Regions from separate parts of the Homo sapiens genome. Here regions 1, 2, 3, 4 and 5 are each linked to region 6. The links are contacts of gene promoters, found by promoter capture Hi-C in blood cells and fetal thymus (Javierre and others, 2016). All regions are on one chromosome and are shown on one strand. Each heading gives the region's core, a stretch centred on a gene start or on the middle of the fragment in contact. The rest is flanking DNA. Distances are from core to core; before and after follow the strand shown. Region 1 overlaps SKP2 (S-phase kinase associated protein 2). Region 2 overlaps NADK2 (NAD kinase 2, mitochondrial). Region 3 overlaps RICTOR (RPTOR independent companion of MTOR complex 2). Region 4 overlaps LMBRD2 (LMBR1 domain containing 2). Region 5 overlaps NADK2 (NAD kinase 2, mitochondrial). Region 6 holds the start of NUP155 (nucleoporin 155).

Region 1 (2,991 bases), core at 252-2,751, 1.2 Mb after region 6:
AGGCCTCCCGTGACATCAACAAGGACAGGCCACTTATGTACCATAATTTCATTATTTACTTACTCATCTCTCTAGACCCCCAGGAGCTCTTGAGAAACAAAAACGCTTTTTTTTTTTTTTTTAACAATTTTTGTATTTTCAGGAACTAGCATAAAATTGATACATTCATCCACTCCCATATTTATAAAATATGTACTATACACTGAGGTCTATTCTAGGTTTTAAGGACACAATGATAAATAAGGCACAATCCTGACCCTTATTCTGCTCAGAGTTTGAGAGATATAGACAAACAGGAAACTTCAATAACCTATCCTGATGGGCTACAGTAGGATTCGGGGTGCTGTGCAGCTTATGGGAATGGCGCAGGGGTTAGGGAAGCCTTTCTGGAGGAAGTGGCCTCTCTTGAAGAATGAGTAGGAGATACACAGTTGTTCAATGAATGCCTGTTCCCCTAGCCTCACGCCCTTCAGGGGACAAAATTAAAGGACTGACTGAGGCCCTGAAAGCTAGGGGTAGAAAGCTGAAGGCAGATCACCCCTGCTGATCTGGGGAGGCAGCTGGAGGTTGTGAGGAGGCTCCTCGACGTGGCAGCTGTTCCATCACTGCCACAAAGTTCCTCCAAAGTCAACATGGGCAGGGGACAAAGGTTCTCAAACCAGGCTCTTGCCCTGCTCCCCAAATTGAAAACAAAGTTGAATGACAGGCTTTTCTCAAGTTTTTCTCCCATTAATCCAACTCTCTCAGACCTCTGCTGCCTCTTACATATCTAGATCAGAATCTAGTAATTGATTGGGCATAACTATATTTAGCTATAAGTATAGTCATCCACTCACGTATTTATTAACCATGTACTATATACACTGAGGTCTGTTCTAGGTTTTGGGCCACAACAATAAGTAAGGTACAATCCTGACCCTTATTCTACTCTGAGTTTGAGAGATACAGACAAACAATTAAACAGGAAATTTCAATAAACTATCCTGATGGGCTACAGCAGGATTCAGGGTGCTGTGCAGCACATGGGAATGGTGCAGAGGTTAAGGAAGCCTTCCTGGAGGAAGTGGCCTCTATGGAAGAGTAAGCTTAACTATACTTCAATAACATACTTAGCTATTTTGAATCTAATATGTTGAGATTTTACTATAATCTGTAAAAATCATACTGACACCATACGCTGGGCCTCCTCAACACATTTGAGGACTACTGGACTGAGAAAGCAGCACAGTTTCTATCAGAATCCTGGCTGTGTTGCCCCAAGTCTGTGAACTTGGGCAAGTTACTTAATCTTTCTGGCCTCAGTTTCTTTACCTGCAGGAAAGGAAATTGACAGATTTATCTTGCAAAATTGTTCAGTGAAGAGTAAATGAGGTACAAGAAAAGATTAAATAATGCAGCAGGGAGTAAAACTTTCTTTTCTATATTCCTCTCCTTTCCCAGTTAAGTCTGGGTATTTTCTTCATGCAATGACCTTTTCAGTGCTGCTCTGAATTTTCACCCATGGGCAGACACTGGACAAGGTCTGCATGGTATGACTTACCAAAACCCCGTATCTGCCCTTTATTTAAGTTTGGGTCCCCCAGAAGCAGATTCTGAAGCTCTGACTTCAAGTAGTTTATTTGGGAAGTGATGCCAGGAAGCACTAGAAAGAGTGGAGAAGACAGAGGTGGAAGGGAAGAAAGCCAACCTGGAGTAGGCTAATAGGCAGGTTATCCCTATGGGCAATTGGGGTTCAAATCTTCTGGGGACTCCAGTAAACCATCTAGAAACTACCCCAGAGCTGTCTCAACCAAGGGCACGAGTGCTGGGGTATTAATCCATCAATTGCTGTTGGTCACTATTTGGGGACTCCCCAGTATTCCTGCCCAGAGAAAGCCCTCAGGCATGGAATCTCATCTACACGTAGGCAAAAGCTTTGGCATGTAAGGGAATGGGGGGCTTCAAGGGGCTATAGATAGGGCACCAACAGAAATTATGGCTGGGGAAAGGAAATTAGAAAAGCTTGCTATGAAGTACAGGGCAGGAGAAATAAATTAACAAACTTGGTGCTTTCTATTAGGAAGACATAAGAAATCAGGACCAATTAAAAGAGCAGTAGCAGCCAGGTAATTAAAGTGCTAGAGGAAAATCTGGCATAGTGATGAATGCAGAGGTCAGTAGACCTAACCAATGAAGACTGCATGTGAGACTCCAAAGTCTGGAGGACTTTGTGTTGCAACTTCCATCTTTGCCTTCCCAACTCCTCCAGATTTCAGCTTAAATGGCACCTGCTCAAAGAAGCATTCCCACCCAGGATACCACCACAGGCCCCATGCCCAGATTTGCACATCCATTACCTAACAATGCCTGGCACATAACAGGACTCTATAAATATTTGCCAAATGTATTTATTAGCCCTCTTCATTCAAATGGTGAATGTGCTAATTCTTTATTAGTGTGAATGGCTAACCCTTATTAACCAATTAACGACTATGTGCACAGCACTGTTGGCATATGGAGGGGATGAGGCTGAAGACAAAAACCCAGAGCAGAAGGGAATGTCCTCTATCAGTATAGCTGTAGTCTCTGGGAGATGGGGGCTGGGGCTTCAAGAAAACATGCAACTATGATAAAAGAGACAAGGTCACACAATCAGTAAGTGGCAGAGGGGGAATTTAAACTCAGGTCTGATTTCAAATCATGCCCTTTCCATCCTAGTGGGTTCTAATATTCTATGCTCTCCTCTGTTGTAAGTACAAATTTTGAAAAGGTGAGAATTAAACCCGGACTTGCTATGGAAACAGAAATCAATCAGGGCTAGGGAGTGAGTGGAGGAGGAGAGAGAAAATAAAACAAAGATGCTATCAATGGGTTCACCACCAAATGGAAGGAGCAAGGTCCTAGAAAACACACATACTCAGCTAGCAGCCAAGTACCCAGTGCTCTTACTCAGCTGACCACAGAATGACACTAATCCTAGGGGCCCCGGGTGGGGGTACCACAGCCTGATAT
Region 2 (3,041 bases), core at 248-2,747, 1.2 Mb after region 6:
GTGAGGATACTCACAAGCAGCTCTGTGGAGAGGCTCACGTAGAGGGTGATTGAGGCCTCCTGCCAATGGCCAGCACCAATTTGCCAGCCATGTGAGTGAGCAACCCTGGAAGTGGTCGTGCTAGTCCAAGTCAAGCCTTCAGATGCCTGCCGCCCTAGCTGATATCTGACTGTAACCTCATGAGAAAGTCTTCTCTCTGCAAGGGTTTTAGACTTGCAGTTGACCTCAGCAGGTATTATTCTATCAAATGACTGTTGATACCTTTTATATACTTAACATTGTGTGAACTATTACAATGAATATAAAAATTTAAAAACCTAGGCCTTACGCTTTCTTAACCTCAGTGTTGACCTGCTTAGATAAAGAAGTTGACTATTCACAACTTTGTAAAAACACTTTTCTGTGCCCTTCACGCTTACAAGTTGATTTACATTTATTATCAGGAGTTTGTTTTGCTAAGCCTACCCTCAGCCTTTTCTTCAAGATTGGAGTATCATTAAATGATGATGACTGAGCCTTCTGGACATCTTTAGGTGCCACATACTCTCATCTACACCAACCAATAGGCAATCTTACCACCTTATAATTTGCAATGGTTTGTTTTAATTTGTCTTCCACATCAAGCTATGAACTCCTTAAAGGAGTTTCATTATTTATGTATTTTTGAATAAATGAAGGATTACATTGGATTAAGCTTTCTCAGTTCTTTTTTAGTGACTTAGGATATCTTAAATGACATTTCAGAAAGGATTATGGTTCAAAACATTTCACATAAATATTTTGATTCCTTTTGAGATTGCTGGTTTATCCTGATTTTGGAGATGAGGAAGCTGATGCTAAAGTGACTTGCCCAAAGTTAATAGTTAAATAATTTAAAGGTTAGAATAAAAATTGGAAGGTTAGTAGTTAAATAATGATTTGAACAACACTGTACCATTAAATAACTTTACAGGGTAATTAGTAGCAGATTTGCTGCTATTTTTAGTTTCATTGTAACGTAGAAACTCACATATTATTATGTATTATGGCATTAAAGCTGGATGTAGACTACTAATTCTATCTGGTCTTTTTTGTTTTTATTTAAAGAACACAATTTTGTGGCAAAAAATGGAATATAGGGTAGACATTTTTAGAATTTCATTTCTTATTTTTATAGCTTAGTGATACCTTTTGATTAAATTTTTTTGCTTCACCTTTTTTCTTTTCCTCTTTATATCACCAAAAAATTCCTGTTAAAATATAGGTCTGAGGGTCATTTATGCCTGCCCGTTCGATATACACATTCCTTTCCAGAAGCCTTACAGAAGTTCTATCGTGGTGAGTTCAGGTAGGAATTTCTTACGGTTGTTCTTATGTAAGTATCTTAATAAGTATGTGCCATTAATAATGCTGTTAAAAAACAGAACAAATCAGGCAGGGCACGGTATCTCACGCCTGTAATCCCAGTACTTTGGGAGGCCGATGCGGGTGGATCACTTGAGCTCAGGAGTTTGAGACCAGCCTGGGCAACATGGTGAAACCTTGTTTCTACAAAAAATACAGAAGTTAGCTGGGCATGGTGGCAAGCACCTGTAGTCCCAGCTACTTGCGGGGCTGAGTTGAGAGGATCACTTGAGCCCAGGAGGTAGAGGTTCCAGTGAGCCGAGATCATGCCACTGCACTCCAGCCTGGGTAACAGAGTGAGACTGTGTCTCAAAACAAACAAACACACAAAAAACCAGAACAAATCAGATAATGTTTGGATTACTCCATAGATATAACAGTAGCCATTAAAAGTAATGTATTAGCTGAGTCACAAATAGGTCTAATTTACCTTCTCCTAGTCCAGTTGGAATTGTGGAGAGAAACCCTGACAAATATTGGTTGGCCTATAATATAACTGCATATAGAAATTTTTTTTCTCCTTCAGTGAGATAGCAGGCATGTCTCTACTTTCTTAACCTCGTTACATGTCCTTATCAGTTTAGTGGAAAGGTAATTAAAACTTTGGCTAAAATTGTTTGAATTTTCAGATTTTATATTTTTTATCTTTATCTCCCATCTAGTAATGATTGAGAGCTGGATTTAATCCAACCATGCTGAGATTCCTGGTATCTGTCTCACATAAAAGTATTTCTTAAGCAGTGGGGATGGGATTTTTAAAAGTTTCTTTTACTTAATGTGTTCAGTGGTCAGACCATCAGGAAAAGAGGAAGGTGGAGGAAGGAGCATGAGGTTGGCCAATTATATTTGAGAGAGCTAAGTTGGACTACTTTTTATTTCCTGACTTGGACTAGATTTTATAGTTGGGGAAAGCTTTTCCCACAGATGTTTGTGAAGTTGTATTAGATCTTCTTTTCAAGAATCATTTCATTACCAGTAATTCTAGTTTCTAGTCATTTCAGAAGTTTGACAAGAAATGGCTAATTTATAGCTACCAAGTGGAAGTATATTTTTGTATACTTACCTAGCAGAATCTGTCCCATTGACTTTCGATACATTGATTATCAGTTTTGAAATCAATTAAACCTGATTGTTTTTTTCCTTTTACCAGAGATGTTATTTAAATTTTTAGGTGTAATCAACACTTTTATTTATTGTTTCTTAATCCTTTTTTCCTTTTATTGTTTTAAAAAACCTCCATTATAAAATTTGTGGAGAGGGATTTTTATCTAATCCAGCCATCTGAACACAATATTATTTTAATTTAAGAATGCTTTCCTTTTTGTATAATATTTTTTGCTGAGCAAAGCACAAGCTATATCTAGCTCAGTATCTTGGACTTTATGGGTTCTTGATAGAGTTTGACTTAATTTAAGTTACTTGGGAGATTTTGTACAAGCACATTAGGTGTTTCCGTTATAATTGAAAAGAGAATAAATATTCAAATCTGTCATTGATAAGGAAGCTATAGGCTTTAGGTGTTTCTGATATAATTTATTCATGGAATAACTGGTAACTAGTTTTTATTAACTATTTAATTTGGTTAAATTATTATAATGTCTACTCTTTAATTTATTCTATTTTAACATAATTTGCCTTTTCTTCATTTTTCTAAGGTG
Region 3 (2,794 bases), core at 123-2,622, 1.6 Mb before region 6:
AACAGTGTTTTCAGTGAAGTACTCAACCTTTCAAGGAAATAGAAACCAAATTAGTTGTTTCTGTTTTTTAAAAGTAGCACATGAACAATGTATAACACTAATCCTCATAGATCCAGGAAATAGCTGTTTGTTTAGAGTAAGGAGAAAGAAATGTACTTATAAAATACACGGTCTTTGTTTTGAACTGTTATATTTTAATATGTAAATATAAGCCACAGGTTTTATAGCTTTATATTCTTAATGACTTTTTAAACAAATGCCTCTTTATACTTAGAATTATTACATATCTTTAGGCAAATATTGACGATAATTGAAATGATGTATTATATAATCTCAATTTTCCATTTTGTATTTAAAACACTATATATTAAAATAATAAACATCTGCTGGCTTTCCTTATTTTTATAACTTAAAGCAAATTATTCTTTTTTTCTTTCCAGTTAGATTTTGAGTCATAAAATGTGCTTAAGCTTTCTTTAAAATTTCACATAATTTAAGGTACCTTGAAAAGTATTATCTTTATTGGATTATGTTTTATATTTACTTATGCACAGGTCTTCCATCTGGAACTGGAGGTCTTGTAAAAAATTCTTTTCACTTGCTACGACAGCAGATGAGTCTTACGGAAATAATGAATTCAATCCATTCAGATGCCTCTCTGTTTTTAGAAAGTACAGAAGACACTGGACTACAGGAACATACAGATGATAACTGCCTTTATTGTGTCTGTATTGAAATTCTGGGTTTCCAGCCCAGCAACCAACTGAGTGCAATATGTAGTCATTCAGGTAAGTGATCACGTCCCACCTTCAGAAAAACCTAGTGATGACTAAAGTTCTCTGGTTTACTTTTCCAAATTTCTTTTTGGTATTCTAATTCAGAGTTTCCCAGCTGGTGAGCTGCAGCACACTGATATGCCAAATTATGTTATGCTGAGATGCTGATCCTCTCACGGTTCCAGGTCACAGTGGGGCCTGAGTCTGACAGATCCCTGGATTAGGTCTTTTCCACTGTGAACAGCCCTGTCCAGGCCCTTTGCATGCTGTAGTTATTTTCATTTTCTATGAGGAAAAAAGTTTTGGAAGTGTTTGGTATATTGCATACAATTAGAGAAGATGTTATTTTATATTATTTCTTTTTAGCATGCAATGTAAGCACAGGAATTAAGCCGTTATGGTGCTTTAATTGAAATAATTATTTTTTTCTTCAGACTTTCAAGATATTCCATATTCTGATTGGTGTGAGCAGACTATCCATAATCCTTTAGAAGTGGTTCCCTCTAAGTTTTCGGGGATTTCTGGATGCAGTGATGGGGTGTCTCAAGAAGGCTCAGCTAGCAGCACCAAAAGCACAGAATTGTTACTAGGTGAGTCTTCAGATTCAAATCCAATCATTATTAGTAAAACTGTTCTGATTAGTTGGTTTTGTTTTGTTTTTCGTAAATACTGTAAATTAAAGTTGTCTCAAAACAGTAATACGTCCATTTTAGTGAAGCAATTTAACACTGTTAATTATTGCACCTATATCACCCACTGACATAGAGCCTCTTAGCTATCTGCTTTTATTAGAGTTTTGCTCCCAAAATGATTGGTAGATCATGTGTAATTGATCTCTAGGTCTTTAGGTGAAGTTTAAAAATAAATTTCATGAGTTTTAATCATTTTATTGTGACATAGATAATATTTAACTTCTCCCTGAAATCTTTTCAGGTGTTAAAACAATTCCAGATGATACACCAATGTGCCGTATACTCCTTCGCAAAGAAGTTCTAAGATTAGTCATTAATTTGAGTAGTTCAGTTTCAACTAAATGTCATGAGACTGGGCTTTTAACGTGAGTAAACTATGTGCATGAGTATTATTTGTTTATTCTGTTTTTTAAGTCGAGAAAAGATACTTGAAATACTTCAAAAGTTAGGCTAGTTAACTTACATCAGTAGTTCTAAACTGCATTGCATACCTGTGTGAGGCTAGATTTTCTTTAATACTTCAGCCAAAACAACATATGGCAACAGATTGAATGTAGAAGCAAGTATGAGAATCCAGCTATCTTCTATTAAGCCAGACTTTTGAAGAGATCTGCAAAAAATGTAAAATAATGCCACTCTTCTCACTTTTTTACTTTTGGAAAATACAGTTATTTTTATTAAAATACATGTTAACATGTAATGGATTTATTTTTAAAATAAATTAATGCATGTTAGGAAATTCTCTCAATTTTAATTTCTAATATAGTAGTTAATGGTGGCTGTAACCCACACAAAAATAAGCTTTTTTGGGTCTTCAGTAATTTTTAAGAAAGTAAGTCCTGAGACCAAAAAGTTTGAGGAAAGTGGGCTTACATGTAACAAGTCATATTTTCTTGGTTTAATTTTTTTCTTATTATTTAAAGCAGTGGTTCTTAAAAGAAATGCACCTCAGGGTCTCCTGCAGGGCTTTTTTATTTTGTATTTTGTATTTCTTTTTTGAGACGGAGTCTTGCTCTGTCACCCAGGCTGGAGTGCAGTGGTGCAATCTCGGCTCACTGCAACCTCTGCCTCCCGGGTTCAAGCAATCCTCCTGCCTCAGCCTCCCAAGTAGCTGGGATTACAGGTGTGTACCACCACACCTAGCTAATTTTTGTATTTTTAGTAGAAACAGAGTTTCGCCAGGTTAGCCAGGTTGGTCTCAAACTCCTGACCTCAGGTGATCTCCTGTCTCAGCCTCCCAAAGTGCTGGGATTACAGGCATGAGCCACCGTGCCCAGCCAGCTGTAGGGCTTTTTTTTAAGGGTGATATAGGTATTGGGGTCCCAC
Region 4 (3,026 bases), core at 386-2,885, 1.2 Mb after region 6:
TAGATAGATTTATAAACTCTGATGTCCTTTAAGTACTTGGTAACCTTTTGATTCTCATTTTTAAACCATACATTCGTTGCTTTAGACAATATACAACCGGTGCAAGCATGCTGCTGCAAATTCAAGCCCTCCTGAGAATAGCAACATTACAGGATTGTACGCAACTGCTAACCCTGTTCCAAGGTATTTCCTTTTTTAAAAAAAATATATAAACATTGTAGGGGACACATTGTTTAAAAATTGAAAGTTTTTACCATCCAGACTTTATATTTATGTAAGTTATCCTCATTCTCTACTAATTCTCCCCACCTCTATTCTTTCCTAGTAGACTTTTCATTACATCATATTCTAATTAAATCTAATTTTTAATATTTATTGGTCCACAAAGCCCTTCAGTAGACGGTAGTGAGAAACTTGAAGAAGTCCTGATTTTTTAGTCCTGGTTCTTCTTTACCAAGTATGTAATTTCTAAAACCTGTTTTTCCTCTCAGCCTATCTCAGATTTAAAAACGTGGGATGTATTTTCACTTTTGCCTAATTTACAAGGTTATAATAAAGACAAGTATTTCTGAACTTATGGTATTCCTTTCATATTGCACATCCTTCAAAAGCATTATAGATTTACATAAAAAATTAATAAAGTTCAAATTGTCCAAAGATTATATTGAATTCATATCGAACTTTTAAGTAAAAAGCTTATATATGTTGACTATAGCCTTTATGAATGCTTTCAGTAGTATTTGCATGCTTCTTTATGCATATTTTTAAAAAATCTAACTTCAGAAAAGGTAAATTTAAAATGCAGGTGTTACTTCCATTTGAAGCACTATTAAAAAAACTGGATAAAGATCAGCAGCAGCTACAGATTGTTGCAAGTTCTTGGGATATCCTTCTAGCTTAGGAATATGGCTCCATGGCAGAATTTATGATCAGAGACTCATCATGTCTTCAAAAATTTAAACAGAATTATGTATAATTGCTAGCATGCATCTCCATAGAAGCTATGTTATAGTGAGTGATTTAATTAGCATTACAATTTTCAGGAATTAATTACCTAATGTTTTCCCCTCCCAACCCCTATAACCTGAAAAAAAAAAAACCCAACCTATAAATGGATTGTGTATTTTAAAGGTAATCATTAGAAATTTTATTTCATAATACATTTGCTTTTAATGATTGTTGCACTTTTAGTCTATTAGTTGAACATTAAGTTTTCTTTTTACCCAATGACTAAAAATACACTGAAAGTTGAAAACTTAAATGACATTTTCAGAACAATCTATTTTGTTGCTTTTGTGTGTTTTTTTAGTTTGGCAGTCAGCTTTGAATTTTAAAATTTCTTTGAAATTTTATGGGTTATTGATTATTAGAGTCAGTAATTTAAAATCTGAATGTAAATTAACTTGGCCACATGCAAATTAATTGTATAATTCATTTAAGTAGTCATTTATGATTAGTTGGCTTTAACTTTTTATTCAACAGCCAGCATCCTTGTTTCAAGCCATGGAGTTACATTCCTGATGGAATCATGCCAATTTTCTGGAGGGTAGTGTATTGGACGTCACAATTTTTAACATGGTAAGTTACAGTAAATGATAAAATTTTTAAAATTTTGGCTAAAGGAATAAAATGTTTTTCAATCAATATAGTTTGGAATTTATTTATGTGTCATATGCATTCTGAATCTTTCTACCCATTATTTTTATCTTTCTGCTGTGCTCCAAACTCATAGTTATCCACTGTCTACTAAGCATCTCTTAGATCTGCAAACAACTGCACTCTAAAACTGGAGGCACTGAACATTGCAAGAGAAAAATTACATAGCAGAGTAGTGCTTTTGTAAAGTCATGTCTATTAAATTCAACTGGGCTCTCAACATTGCCAGACTTTCCTTCTTTGTTTTTTTTAGTTTGCTTTCTTTCCATTTTCTACAAGAAATATTTCCATTCACTTCAAACTTCCGTCCTCTTTATGGCTTTCTCTCTTGTGCTCCCTAACAACAACAACAAAATCATCTTTACTCTTAGCCTCTTAGCAGATGACTACTTTCCATCCAGCAGTTAAAACAGGAGTCATCAGACGGCAGCTCTTTCAGCTTCTCACCAACAAATCTACATACCTACCCATCTTTTTTTCTTTCCCCTCCAAAGATGGAAGAGTCATGCTTGTTAAAGCCAATACTTCTGTCACAGGATCCTTAGGGGTGTTGTTTTGCCAGCTGGAAACCTCTATGGCCAGTAGCACCTTTGCCTGAATTTTACTCAGGCCCGCTGGGCTTATTCCGCTTACTCAGCCTGGCAGGTTGCACTTAGCTCATGCTCCTGGCTCTGATCTCATGACTCCCAAGGGCGAGCCAGGCATGGAGTGGTGAGGGGTGTGTGAGTGAGTGAGCATGGGATCCAGCCACTGAGCACAGCCAGACACGCTGGCTGCTGTGGCAGGGTGGGCAGCTCCAGGCATCGGCACAGGTGTCGGCTCTGTGAAAGCCTGTGGCTGGGTCAGATGCACTGCAAGCAGCTTCTGCTGTGGGCACCTGCATCTGGATGAGAGGAATGTGGTGGTACCCAGAAGCTTGGAGATGCCAGAAACCTCAGAGCTCCAAAGAGGGTGTCACAGCCCTAGCTTGGGGAGCCCCTAGATCTGGGCTCCTGGAAGGGCCACAGCTCTTCTCTTCTCGTCACCTGCAACATGGCAAGTGGCAGGGCCATGTTTCAGCCCTGTTTGTGTTTCAGCTCCTTCAGTTCTGCCATTCAGCAGGTCCTGAGTTCTTGTCCTACATCCAGGAAGAATGAGGTATGCAGACAACTGGAGGGTGAGCAAGGTGAAGAGGTGCTTTATTGAGTGATAGTACAACTCTCAGGAGACCCAAAGTGGATAGCTCCTTTCTGCAGGCAGGTTGTCCTGACAAGTATAGCTCTCAGTGGAGAGGAGCCCCAGAGTGGGTAGCTCCTATCTGCAGGCAGGTTATCCCAATCGTCTGTGCAGCCCCCAGTAGAGAGGAGACCTGAAGTAGATAGCTCCTATCT
Region 5 (2,821 bases), core at 152-2,651, 1.1 Mb after region 6:
ATTACCACTTAATAAAAAAACTTTTAAAATGTAGGGAAAATCAATAAGTCTTAAAAAGTCAAACTACCTAAGTGTACCCGTTCTGAGTGGAGAAATCTCTAATAGGTAAATATTTGTCTATTGCTAGGTAATGCTGTTTGGGATAAGCCAGCTTTGAAGTAAAACTCGTGGGCTGTAGAATACACAGTTTTGTAATTGCCAGGCAGTGGAATAGTTTTTGTTGGTGGTGTTGTCATTACAGTTTTATTGGATAAGTTCCTTACTGATTTGAATTTGTGTTATAGTTTATATAAAGGCCCATACTCAGAATGCAATAGCATTAGTTGTAGACCAGATGAGAGATTATTAACAGGCCAAAGAATACTGGGCTGTGTGAAGCTGTCCTAAAATGGGATTCTGTAATAGGAGTGATAAGATGATAAGTATTATTTGTTATATTGCTGGGGTAGAAAATACTAAGTTATGTGAATCATGTGAATTGGATGGATATAAAAGAAAGTGGCCAAGTGCTTGAGTCTCACCATGGCTGCTGTGTCTATAGTGTCATGGTAACTTGGTTTTTTGTCAAAGCATTCTCTTTTGTTGTCGTGGTGGTGGTTTTTTGATGTAAAACAGGTCTGTTTTAGGCTATTTGTTAAAATGCAAATGGAAGATGAAGGATAGAGTGCCAGTATAATTTTATACCCTGAAGGCTGATGATTTTCTAACTTTGTAGAAATGTAAACAATTACAGGAAATATTTTTTAGTTGATAAGGCATGCACAGAATAGGTTTACAACCTTCAAGCTAGTCAAAGTTTTGACTTTTATTTACCGTTTCATATTGGTTACATTGCTTTATTTTAAAATCTTGTCTTTTTCCCCATTGATTGACCAGTGACTTATTTTGTGATATCAGATTTCTGGTCAAACATTTTACCTCTACTGTCTCATGACCTTTCAAAGGCCAGTAAAACTATTATTACAATTTACTTGCATCATTAAGAGATGTAGCTGTTGGCAAATGTGCAATTGCTATTAACAGGGTCCTTGACACAAATTAGAACTCTAGATGAAACAAAACTGACTTGGAAAGGATTTTGACACCAGAAACATACCTCATTGGTCAAAAAAAGGTTTTATTTAAAGCTCTTTTTCACCTGTCACCAGGGATGGGGAACTGAATAAGGAAAAAAAATTTTAATGTAGAACAAATAAGAAGTCAGCAGTTTCTGCCCTCCTCTCCATCATTCCAGGTCTCACAACTCGGCAACCCTTTTACTGGTTCCTATTTTTAGTTTTGTTTTTTAAAATTCATAATGGGATAGAATAATTTCATTTAACAGTCTGCCGTGTTATTGGATTAAACTAGATGACTTGGAAGGTGTAGCACCTTGGATTTCCCTTTTGTTTTCTGAAGATTTTGTGGCTTAGGTTGTAGCACTTGGGCAGATAATACTTTTGCCACAGGGTATGCAATAAGCGTACCATGGTATACTTTTGTCAGGTGGTATACTTTTGCTACATTGTATGCAATAAGTATATTACATACAATATGATTGTTAATCAAATTAAAGAGCATGATTTGGAGTACTGCCAGAGCTTTCTAACTGAATCCTTGCTCCTCTCAAATCTTCTAGACACAGTTACCAGAGTGTCTATCTAAAGTGAACATCTGGCCCTTTCTCTCTTTTGCTTGGAACTCCACAGAAGCTCCCTGTACCCTTTAGTCACCAAGAGTACTTGTTAAAATGCAGACACCTGAACCTTAGCCCCGCAAGACTCTGACTCAGTTTGTGGAGAATTCCCAGACTTTGGTTTTATGAAGCACACACCTGAAATTAATGACTCCGGCTGAATTCCAGGGATGTGTTTTATCCCTGGTTGGCATGTGGTCCCCAGTTAAACTGAGAAACACAGTTGTGGGCTCAAGTTCATGATCTTTAGAATGGCAGATAAGTCCCTTCATGAACTGGCTATCTCTTGAGCTTCACTTCTGATCACTTCTTGTCTTAAATTTCATATTCTAGCAATTTCAAACTGTGTTAATTTCCATTAGATGTTGTACTGATTTAGTTTAATTTATGGATCAGTAGCACATAAAATGATTCAAAATATAAAAGATACAAAATATTATACAAAGAAGTCTTTCTGTTACTTGTCATTTGTCATTCAGTTTTGTCCCTGGAAGTAACTGTTATCAATTTCTTGTGTTTTCTTCCAGAAGCAACCTATACCTACAAATCAGCACAGTGAAATATTCTTTTTCTTTGCCTCATCTCTTTTTATTCAATGATAATATACTATTTAAGCTATTATGTGCCTTTTTTTTTAGCCTAACAGCATTTGTGGAGATTGTCATAAAGAACATTCCCATTCTTTTTAAAAATAGTATGTATGTTACTTTATTTTGTGTCCTAATTTATCTTCTGCTATTAAACACATTCTGAAATGAATAACATTTGTGTTTATATGCATGTAAATCAAGCTCTAAGACAAATACCTAAAGTTGAAATTGTTGAGTCAAAAGCCTTGTGCATATAAAGTTTTAACAGATTTGGCCAAATTGCTTCCCTTAGAGATTATACAGATTTTTACTTTCACCAGCCCTGTATAAGGGGACTTATTTTTCCATACATAGTTCATTAAATTGTTGGGTCTTTGCCAACCTGGTGGGTGAAAGATGGTATTTCAGGGTGGTTGAATTTGCATCTCTCAGTGTCTATGTGTCTACTTTTGTAGCCTCCTTTGATTTGAATGCTCTTCTTCCTCTATCCAATTCCTGTTTTTTTTTTTTTTTTTTTTGAGGTTAAGCTCAGACATTACTCTCTCAGGATGCCATC
Region 6 (2,907 bases), core at 164-2,663:
TAGATTACACTTTGGGGAGCTTTACTTCTATGCAGGAATATCACAGCAACGTTGTTGAATCTTCCAATTTATGGAGTTGAAAACTTTGTGTATTTTGTCTCAAATTAAAAACAAACTCGGTGCCAGACCACCACTTTTCAATCTATGGTCTACCAAATAAAGTAAACTCACAGCTAGAGACCCAACTGCCTATCTATATACCAATGATAAAAAATCCAGTTTTTCTTGGTATATTGGCTATGTCAAATTTTAAGTGTAGATTGGTAACATCAAAGAACTTTCAATTTTCAGAAATGTAGTCAAGTCTTTGAGGGAGTAAAAATGTAATTCAAATAGCAAAAGACCAATTTAGAGTAATTCAGTTATTGATTTGTGAAATTCTGAAGAACATAACTGGAAGCTTTCTTAGGTGAGATTCTAAATAAGAGCAGCTTTCTAAAAAGTGCTTTGATTTACCCACTCAGGTTGCCTTCTGTAGTAAATGAAGCCTCTTTTACCTCTCTGCTTTCTCCTATCCTGCTATAGTTTATACCTATCCAAATAGAAAAATTATAATGAAGCCCTTTGTCTCTGCTTGAAGCACCTTAAGGACAGGAAACACTGTGTTAGTTTGATAGTCCCAGCACCAGGCACAAGGCAAGTATTCAGTTTCTTAGGATTGTATGAACTCTTGGGTTCCTATCTCATACGAGTTCCTATACTAGCGCTGGGAATGGAAAGATGAATTAGAACTGTCTGCTATCTCTGCCACGATAAAAAGCACGGCAGCGGTCCACCTGCACTCAGCTTCTTCTTAAACACGTATTTTATACTAAGGGGCAACAAAGTCAAAAGACAGCGACACGCAAATGGAAAAGCCTGATGAATTCTAATTTACACTGAAGCCCGCGAAGAATATAGTGAGATACTGGTTTATATCCCTCTCTGTGACAGCGACCTACCAATTCTTAACTACTCTCACAAAAGCAGTTACTTGGAGAACCAAACTGCGCGCTCATGCGCGAACTCATATAGCTGCAGTTAGCGGATACCGACGCGGGAAGTTCCAAGACTCAGGTCGAGCACGCGCTTAAACCAACGGAACCTGACCAACCTCCTAGGCCAGACACACGACCTAGCTCCCACCTACCGTATCCCTCCTCCCTCCTTCCTCCTCACCCTATCCAACCCCATCCCGCCCCTCTCCTTCCCTGTTCCCTCCCCTTTATCCTTCCCTTCCTTTCCCTCCCTCCCTTCCCTAAATAACCTACCCTAATTTTACCCTGCCACACCCCAAAACCCTCAACCCCCTCGAAAGCATCAGCAGCCTCCTAGCTCCACCCACAACCTCTAGCCCCCTCCCAACAGCTTCCTCTTCCCAGGCCAGAACGGCGTCTTCCAGTTCCCCACCGGATGAAGCGGAAGTGCGTCATGTCGAGGCGCCAAGGCGCTCGTTTGGCGCGCGCGCCCTAGGCGGCGGATCTAAGCTAACTTCTTGGATCTTTTCTTGTTTCTCCTTGGTTTTTGACTTTTTCTGGACCCTGGTGTCTACGATTTCCGAGATGCCGTCTTCTTTGTTGGGCGCGGCGATGCCGGCCTCTACATCTGCCGCAGCCCTGCAGGAAGCTCTGGAAAATGCTGGACGGCTCATCGACCGTCAGTTGCAAGAGGACCGCATGTACCCGGACCTTTCCGAGCTGCTTATGGTGTCTGCCCCAAGTGAGTGATAGTGACCCTGCTTTCTCAACCTAAAGGACTCTCGCCTGACTTCCTAATTTGCTACTTATCCCCAGCGTTGGTCCCGGCGAGGATATGCTGAGATTTATGGCACTGTTGGCTGCATTTTTGGAGAACAGCAAGCAGCTTCTTTTCAGGTTTTTTCCTTTCCTCACTTTCTTCATTGTAGATACTTGAGAGGGCAAGAGTGAAGAGCAAGCTCCCAGTTGAAGCAGAAAGAGGCAAAGACCTCAACCTTAATGAGCTTCTCGCCGCTCTCAAGTGCTTATGGCTAAGGCCATATGAGAAGCATCTCCAGATCCAAGTCCCAAATTTGTTCATTTCTCCTGTTAGTGTTTGAGTAGATCGTAAGAGCAAACGAAGTTAATTTGGAAATTTAGCATGTTATCTTAAAGATACGCTTTGCTTTATATTTATTTGTTTATTTATTGAGACGGAGCGGTTCCCTCTTCGCCCAGGCTGAAGTGCAATGGCGCGATCTCGGCTCATTGCAACCTCCGCCTCCTGGGTTCAAGCGATTCTTCTGCCTCAGACTCCCAAGTAGCTGAGATTACAGGCGCCTGCCACCAAGCCCGGCTAATTTTTGTGTTTTTTAAGTAGAGACGGGGTTTCACCATATTGGCCTGGCTGGTCACGAACTCTGACCTCAAGTGATCCGCCCGCCTCGGCCTCCCAAAGTGCTGGGATTACAGGCGCAAGCCACTGCACCCGGCCAAGAAACGCTTTATTATGTGTAGAGATGTGTGTTATGAAATGCTGGAGGATCTTAAAAGAACTACCAGTGGAATAAAGAAAGAGAACAGGGAAATCACAGTGCTTATGTACAGGGAGAGTAAGGCAGAATATGTGTTGACAATATAGGTGACTGGAAAGTAATTTGTTTAACAGTTTTAAGTTATAACCAGCTCCCCACGGCTTATGGAATTACATCAGTTGCTAGAAAAAGTGACCCCTTTGTGAGATGGAATTTGGAGAAAACCAGCGAAGTGTAAGAAAGAAAAGATTGTTGGTGAGCAAGAACCAAAGTAATCTAAATAGGATAATTTGTGCAGTGTAAACCGAGAACACTTCTGATTATTTATAAAAATCATTGATAGCTTTGTAATCAAAGAAATGATAGAAACAAAGATAGTATTTGCTCCCTACAGCTACTTACCAATGAGCGTGTCTTATAATACCTGATTGGCCTAT

Evidence for each region. Contacts are between HindIII fragments. The CHiCAGO score rates a contact against its expected background, and 5 or more counts as called.
Region 1: a contact is called between a fragment that was not itself captured here and the fragment with the promoter of NUP155 in region 6, in 8 of 17 cell types (naive CD8 T cells, total B cells, naive B cells and 5 more). The highest score is 8.9, in naive CD8 T cells.
Region 2: a fragment that was not itself captured here is called in contact with the fragment with the promoter of NUP155 in region 6 in 1 of 17 cell types (monocytes); the score reaches 5.4 in monocytes.
Region 3: a contact is called between a fragment that was not itself captured here and the fragment with the promoter of NUP155 in region 6, in 2 of 17 cell types (M2 macrophages and total CD4 T cells). The highest score is 6.0, in M2 macrophages.
Region 4: a fragment that was not itself captured here is called in contact with the fragment with the promoter of NUP155 in region 6 in 2 of 17 cell types (monocytes and total B cells); the score reaches 5.6 in monocytes.
Region 5: a fragment that was not itself captured here is called in contact with the fragment with the promoter of NUP155 in region 6 in 6 of 17 cell types (total CD8 T cells, naive CD8 T cells, total CD4 T cells and 3 more); the score reaches 8.8 in total CD8 T cells.

The regions. Positions count from the first base shown.
Region 1 is chr5:36,158,424-36,161,414 of GRCh38, reverse strand. All of the region lies in intron 2 of SKP2 (S-phase kinase associated protein 2), which reads right to left. Among named protein-coding and RNA genes, the nearest start is that of SKP2, 7.8 kb to the right of the region's middle. The HindIII fragment of the contact is 828 bases long and covers 1,088-1,915 here.
Region 2 is chr5:36,217,882-36,220,922 of GRCh38, reverse strand. It overlaps NADK2 (NAD kinase 2, mitochondrial), which reads left to right. Exons shown (of 12, transcript NM_001085411.3): 5 at 1,244-1,327; 6 at 3,039-3,041. Among named protein-coding and RNA genes, the nearest start is that of NADK2-AS1, 1.7 kb to the left of the region's middle. The HindIII fragment of the contact is 1,601 bases long and covers 697-2,297 here.
Region 3 is chr5:38,943,485-38,946,278 of GRCh38, reverse strand. RICTOR (RPTOR independent companion of MTOR complex 2) reads left to right here. Exons shown (of 38, transcript NM_152756.5): 34 at 555-788; 35 at 1,211-1,366; 36 at 1,710-1,833. It also overlaps a transcript of OSMR not described here. Among named protein-coding and RNA genes, the nearest start is that of OSMR, 99 kb to the right of the region's middle. The HindIII fragment of the contact is 1,799 bases long and covers 473-2,271 here.
Region 4 is chr5:36,139,659-36,142,684 of GRCh38, reverse strand. LMBRD2 (LMBR1 domain containing 2) reads left to right here. Exons shown (of 18, transcript NM_001007527.2): 3 at 86-183; 4 at 1,483-1,578. Among named protein-coding and RNA genes, the nearest start is that of MIR580, 6.8 kb to the left of the region's middle. The HindIII fragment of the contact is 1,876 bases long and covers 698-2,573 here.
Region 5 is chr5:36,236,830-36,239,650 of GRCh38, reverse strand. The region is part of intron 1 of NADK2 (NAD kinase 2, mitochondrial); the gene reads left to right. Among named protein-coding and RNA genes, the nearest start is that of NADK2, 3.7 kb to the left of the region's middle. The HindIII fragment of the contact is 3,457 bases long and covers 1-2,821 here.
Region 6 is chr5:37,369,612-37,372,518 of GRCh38, reverse strand. It overlaps NUP155 (nucleoporin 155), which reads left to right and starts at 1,413. Exons shown (of 35, transcript NM_153485.3): 1 at 1,413-1,698. The coding sequence starts at 1,542. RefSeq lists enhancers at 1,421-1,510, 1,631-1,740. The HindIII fragment of the contact is 10,669 bases long and covers 403-2,907 here.